Regions from separate parts of the Homo sapiens genome. Here region 2 is linked to region 1. The links are contacts of gene promoters, found by promoter capture Hi-C in blood cells and fetal thymus (Javierre and others, 2016). All regions are on one chromosome and are shown on one strand. The core of a region is centred on a gene start or on the middle of the fragment in contact, and the rest is flanking DNA. Distances in the headings are between cores, read along the strand shown.

Region 1 (3,528 bases), core at 725-3,224:
GTGAAACCCCATCTCTACTAAAAAAATACAAAATTAGCCAGGCGTGGTGGTGCATGCCTGCAATCCCTGCTACTTGGGAGGCTGAGGCAAGAGAATCGCTTGAACCCAGGAGGCGGAGGTTGCAGTCAGCCAAGATCGTGCCACTGCACTCCAGCCTGGGTAACAAGGGCAAAACTCCGTTTAAAAACAACAACAACAACAACAACAAACCATTTAAGTAAACTCAATTCTAGAAGTTGCTTCTGTCTTCTAATAACCTGAGTGATCTGATATTTCAGGAAAGCAACCACAAAGGCCCTAGAAAAGAAACAGATTTGTAACTATTGGGAGTTTATGGCGGGTAGTGAAGGGGTAAGGAGACACACATTCTCAAGACCTATCAGTTGGAAAGGATCTGTAAAAGGATTAATGGCCAGCCTTTGCAGGTAACATTTGAGAAACCCGTGTTTGTGTTTTCATTGGAAAGAAATGGCCACTAACGATGAAAAAGCGTGTGTTTCCTCTACGCAACCATGGTACTTTCTTTCACTTTCTTCACTAAAGGTAAGAGAAGCCTAAAGTGCTCAGCAGAGAAAATGCTACTTTTCAGGCTTGTTGCAAAGAGAAAAGAAAGGAAAAATGAAGGGAAGACAAGGCAAAGGGAGTGAAGAGGAAGCAAAAAGAAAATATAAGAAAAAATGGATTTTCAGATACCACTTTAACTGTTCTATTAGCAAAAAAAAAAAAAAAACAAACCATACAGCCCACTCTGTACGGGGGCCATACGGGAATCTGAGACTATCCAGTTTTCTTCATTTGCTCTCCTTCTTGCTAGATGGCATAGCTCTATAAACTTCCCTGTGACAATTGTTTAGAATCCCTCAGTCCAGTGACCCTTTTCTCCACTAATGGATTACTCAGAGACTTCTGATTCATTGTGGGGCCCAAAATATTTTAAAAGAGCCCTGCCTCTCTTATTTCTAGACTAGAGGCACCTAAACTGCTAGAACAGGATTAGAAATTCCTGGATGGGAAATTCCGTTTAGGGGAATTACACACCTAGTTTTCATAATTTGTTTGGAATTTTGAGGGATGGGTGATAAGATGCTAAAAGAGATAAAATACTTCAGCGGCACTTCTAAAGTGCCACGGCAATCCTGCTCGTTTCCATGCTCACTCTAATTTCTGTCCCCCTTTTCATTGTCATTGCCATCAGTCACACATGCATCTATGCAATCTCGTAATACTAAGGAAACTTTGTAGTTTATTCATTTCCCTATGACCCCCTGGGTTCTGTATATGTCTCCCCACCCCGCAGTTCATTTCCTTTCAGACTCTTCTGAGAGTTGATTAATCTGGGGAAAAATACTCTTTCTGCCTTTTCACCACTGAACTCACCAGGATGAAATACAGCAGGGCTGAGGCCGCCACGACATGAACTCGGACTCCCATCGGGCTGAATTCCTGCTTCTTCAGAATCTTGCACTGGGCATCCGTTGCCTCCTTTCAATGCTCTGTGCCATATTTTACTTCTTGACCTAGAATTCTTAAGAAGAGAAACTTTTCTCAGGAATTTATCAGCTTTTCTCTCTCTCGTTCTCTCTGTCTCCTCCTACTCGCTCTGGCTGTTATTTTCTATGGCTTTTCCCTCTTCTTTCCTGTTTTTCTTCTTTATTCTTATTACTATTTCTATGGCCTCCACATTTACTTCCTTTTGCCTTCTTTCTTTCCGTTACACTATTAATTCTTTCTACATCTTGAAGTTTCTTTCTCCTACTGCTCCCAAAAAGGAGACATTCAAAGAGGACATATGTGTCCTCTGAATGAAGTATTTTTCTAGACAGCGATGAAAAACTTGGCTTTGAGGATGGTCAAAGGCAGATTGCTGGTGACCAAATATATTCCTTTCTTCATCAGAAAACTGGTAATATTCTTGATCCTTCACCAGAGTACTCCAGCGTGACTGTTGCAGGGTGAAAGTCACCCTGCTAATCTCCTTTCTTCTCTCTCCGTGTGACTAACAACCCCTTCTTGCTCTTTGAAACCCTCCCCTTCACTATGTTGATAATCAACTCTCCTGGTTCTGGGTCATTTATATCCCTAAGCATTGGGGTAAGACTGAGAGGTTGCCAAGTGAACAGGAAAGCCATCTCATCTTTGGAGAAAACAGACTTGAAGATGAGAAATCAAGTCGGAAGATTAGAATTTTCAGGTGTTATCAGTGACATCTTCCTCCTCCCTGACTTCACTTCCCATTGAAATAGATAACTGAGAAAGACATTTTTTTAAAACCAAATTTTAAAAAAGCAAATGTATAGGTTTCTTTCTTTCTTGCCTTTTCTTTGTTCCTTCTTTCTCTCTCTTTCTCTCTCTCTCTCTCTCTTTGGTTAAGGAGTGATGTGATTGAGAAATAAGTCTTGTCACTCAGGAAAATAAAACCTAAGGTTAGAGTAAAAACAAGCACACATGCAAAAGCATAGAATACTTTTTTTTTTTTTTTTTTTGAGACGGAGTCTTGCTCTGTCACCCAGGCTGGAGTGCAGTGGCGCAATCTCGGCTCACTGCAAACTCTGCCTCCTGGGTTCATGCCATTCTCCTGCCTCAGCCTCCCGAGTAGCTGGGAATACTGGCGCCCACCACCACGCCCGGCTAAGTTTTTTTGTATTTTTAGTAGAGACGAGACGGGGTTTCACCATGTTAACCAGAATGGTCTCGATCTCCTGACCTCATGATCCGCCCGACTCGGCCTCCCAAAGTGCTGGGATTACAGGCGTGAGCCACCGTGCCTGGCCTAGAATACTTACAATGAAACAAAGCTATAGACACAAATGTGGCCGGGTGCCATGGCTCATGCCTGTAATCCCAGCACTTTGGGAGGCCAAGGCGGGCTGATAACTTCGGCCAGGAGTTTGAGACCAGCCTGGAGAACATGATGAAACCCTTTCTCTACGAAACATACAAAAATTAGCTGTGTGTCATGGCAGGCACCTGTAATCCCAACTACTTGGGAGGCTGAAGCAGGAGGGCCACTTGAACCCGGAAGGCAGAAGTTGCAGTGAGCCGAGATCACACCACTGCACTCCAGCCTGGGTGATAGAGCGAGAATCTGCCTCAAAAAAGCAAAATATTAAAAGAAACAAAAGAATGCTGTATGAATGATTTATACTTAAGTAGGTGATCTTTTACTTAATACCAAATGTTTAATAAAAAAATTATTATTATTATTATTATTATTATTATTATTATTATTATTATTATTTGAGACAGAGTCTCTCTGTCACCAGGCTGGAGGGCAGTGGTGCAATCTCGGCTCACTGCAACCTCTGCCTCCTGGGTTCAAGCAATTCTCCTGCCTCAGCCTCCTGAGTAGCTGGGATTATAGACACCTGCCACGACACCCAGCTAACTTTTCTATTTTCAGTAGAGACAAGGTTTTACCATATTGGCCAGGCTGGGATAAGAAAAGTAGAAGTTAGTTTACAGTGATATATCTATCTCATAAGAATTGAATAAAACCTCCTTTCAGGACCTTTCTAGCTCAGTAAATCT
Region 2 (3,528 bases), core at 342-2,841, 520 kb before region 1:
ATTCAGAAATAAAGCAAAAAGCAGGCCACAACCTTAACCAACACCAAAGAAACATCCAAGCAATAAAGTGGAAGACTAACCAAGATTTGGACATTGGAATGTTTACTGTTATTCTTTAAGAAACAACTACAAAAAGAAAATGTCAACAAATTTTTCCAGCAAGCTGAGAACCTGGGAATTCCTGCACGGAAGACAAGAGAGTAGCCTCTCCAGTTTCAGCAACCGCTAGGTTTCTATTTTTTTTCCTGGTTTTTACTGTTTTGGTAATATATATATTGAAACAAGAAATATTAATACCACATGGGGAGAACCCCAACCAAAGAAATCTGAAATATATAGTAAATGCTTTTTTTTCCGTTTTTGTTCATTTTGGATGCTGGTGCTAAACCTCCAAGTGTCATGATTTAAAAAAAAAAAAAATTTATGTCCTTCTTATTTATTTCTAGGATGAGGGGAGGATAACATTTTTGCTTTCTTATGTGACTCTCTTTGAAAATGTGCAGTAAGAAATTCCTCAAAAATAAAATTTTTACCCTTCAGAGGACAGAATGTTTAATGGGAGTGTATTTTTGCCGACCTTAGCGTGTGTTTGTCTTCTCCACCACTTGATTTACTTGACTTGATTAATAGTAAATTCAAAGCCAAATGTAAAGTTAAGTTAATGCTGTTTCACAAATTTAGGCATATAAGCTTGAGATGATAAAAAATTGGATTCCTGTTGAAATGTACAGCTGGAAATTGACAAGTTCATGTCTGAGTTCAGTAGTAGGCATGAATTATTTGGTACTGTCTCTTTTTGAGTAATCTTCATTCAGTGAGGTGACGTGATGACCTTTAGATTAACGAAGGAGTTAATAGTTCTAACATCCTTCAACTTCCAGCCTGAGGTTTTTACCAGTAACTGCTGTGTTGTAGGTATACAAGGGAGCTCTTTACAACTACATTTCTCCCCCTCCCAGCCATGGTGCCCCTAAGTTGAGAAAAACTATCGCAGCTGTCAGTGCCGTATAGTTACTTTTCAGAACTGCTGCAGCAGTACATATCCAGTGTAGGTTTGTGCTAAACATTATTCTAGTGGCTAGGATGGAACAAACCAACAAAATACCATTGTTTCAATGACCAGGTACATACAGAAAATAAACAAGTATGGAATTTAATTTAGATGGCAATAAGTGCTGTTAAGAAACATAAAACATGGTAGGAGGACAGGGACTGGCATAATCATAGGGGATATGTTGATTTTAAATAGTGGGGAGGGTCTCCTATTTAAATGGAGTCCTAAGGTGAAGGGGCATTAAACATTTGAGTATCTGCAGGGAAGAGCATTGCAGGTGGAGGGAGCATTCTTGGCCTAATAAATGGCAAGCAGGTGAATGTGAACTGTTCAAGAACCTTGTATTATCTTGCAAGTTAAAAGGGTTGGTAAAAATTGGTAATAGGCCAAGGCAAAAAAAAAATCAACTATTTTATTCTATTAAAAAAGGCTCCCATCTTGGTTCCAGTTTCCTCCAGGCAACCAGTTAGCATATCTTAAAAATAGACCCATTTCACATATTTCATGTGTGTGAGTCTCTGTGTGTGTGTGTGTGTGTGTGTGTATGTGTGTGTGTGATTGGCCGACTAATGCAAATTTGAGAAGAGGAAATGAGCTTAAATTGTGCTTATGTTAACAACTTAAAAACAATCATTAGACATATCCATGTTTAAAATTCTATGGATAGTTCAACTATACTATTTAGCCAGTCTTCTTTTTCCTAACTTCCCCTTCTCTCTTCCTGCTCACTTTAAAGCTATTCTAGTATAGAATATTTCAAACATACTTTTTAAAATGTTTTTAAAATGTACGTATACTTTTTGGCACTGATTTTCTTTTTCACCTAATATTTTTCCTATAGAGTCCTCTCATCATTTGTACTGACTATATAACATTCCATTACATAGCTATCCATAATTGTACTAGCCTTCTATCATGGGATATTGAGGGTATCTTAATTGCCATTGCAAACATTTTGCTTGATATAATCCCAACATCCTTACTTCTAAATACTGTCATCTGTTTCAGGATGGTAGCTATTCTATTTCTGGGAAAAAATAAAATAAAATGGAATGATGAATGCAGAGTTGGGGAAAACACACTGGTTGTAGGTACAGAAATAACACAAATTGGATGTGATGTGAGGATGGGCCAAAAGTATGTTATTTTACTGGTGAGGGACCTTGGATTGCTTTATCAAGAAATACAGGCTACCGGGGTGAGACCACAGCCAGAAATTAACTAGAAGGCTATCTGTCATACGGCAATCACAACTTAACTCTGTGGTTGTTCATATTTGATGGCACTGCACCTATCAGAAAATAGCACTATGCAAATCAGTATTTGCCTCCTACTATGTGTCAAGAGTGATGGGTGCTTTCAGATCACAAGTAAGTCAGCTGTAACTGTTATAAGGGCTCTTGTGTTTATTGCAAAGATGCAAGTTTTGAAAGCTTTTTGCTCTTAGTGGAGTGGATAAATGTGTTTATAAAGACATGTTTTGAGATTTTAAAGAAAAAATTTAGAGCTAAATTAGATTGAAGCTAGTTTCAGTTAAAAAATGGAAAAGAATCTCAAGATTGATTTTGTATATTATGGCATAAGCATTTTGTTTAATAAGAAAAAGTCTAGAAAGGATACAGGTGCTGATATAAATCTCTGGAAATGTGATCTTGTGCAGTAGCAGAAATAAGAATTCATCAGCTTTGTGATTTTCCCAAAATGCTTTGTGAAAGCATTTCATTTTAACTGATGAGCTAGCTCCAGAATCACCCAGGCTTTCAGAATGGGGATGGTAAGCTCTAATGAATGATCCACACTGGTCAAATAACACGGGGAGCTTAGTTTGCAGATCCCTCCCTATGCCTCTAGTTTGGACAGTATTCTAGTAAAAGGGGTATAGAATAGAGGCATCTGATAAAAGAGACTAGAAATCACCACTTTGTTATTGCCATAGTATTGTTCTTTTATGCATTGATCTCATTGTCAAATTCATGAAGGCTTGCACATAAGGGGTTCCAGGCAACGCCTGTGCCTGTCACATGGACTTGGCACCACTGGTGAAAACTCCCTCTTATCAGTTGAGAACAGAATTTCCCGAGTAATAAAAATTGTGGGAAGAAGTGTGTGTGTGTGTGTGTGTGTGTGTGTGTGTGTGTGTGTTGTTATTTTAAAAAGTTCCTAAGATGTTTTCCAGAATGGCTGTTAAGGGCCAAATTGTGTCCCCCTAAAACTCAAATGTTGAAGTCCTAACCTCCAGTACCTCAGAATGTAACCATATTGGGAGATAAGTTGTTTTAAGGGGTGATAGATGAGTTTAAAATAAGTCCATTTTAGGGTGAGGTCTAATCCAATATGACTGGTGTTCTTGTGAGGAGCAACACCAGAGACATGCGTGCACAGGGGGGTGGCCATTTGAAGAAGTTGCAAGAGGAAGGAAGGCCATCTGCAAGCCACGGAGAGGCCTCAGTGAACCAAACCTGCCAGCACCTTGA

The links. Contacts are between HindIII fragments. The CHiCAGO score rates a contact against its expected background, and 5 or more counts as called.
Region 2: a contact is called between a fragment that was not itself captured here and the fragment with the promoter of TMEM52B in region 1, in 1 of 17 cell types (naive CD8 T cells). The highest score is 5.4, in naive CD8 T cells.

Annotation. Positions count from the first base shown.
Region 1 is chr12:10,177,478-10,181,005 of GRCh38, reverse strand. It overlaps TMEM52B (transmembrane protein 52B), which reads right to left and starts at 1,974. Exons shown (of 5, transcript NM_001384896.1): 1 at 1,378-1,974. The coding sequence starts at 1,431. RefSeq lists an enhancer at 417-1,616. The HindIII fragment of the contact is 29,503 bases long and covers 1-3,528 here.
Region 2 is chr12:10,696,105-10,699,632 of GRCh38, reverse strand. YBX3 (Y-box binding protein 3) reads left to right here. Exons shown (of 10, transcript NM_003651.5): 10 at 1-544. Among named protein-coding and RNA genes, the nearest start is that of STYK1, 24 kb to the right of the region's middle. The HindIII fragment of the contact is 1,797 bases long and covers 693-2,489 here.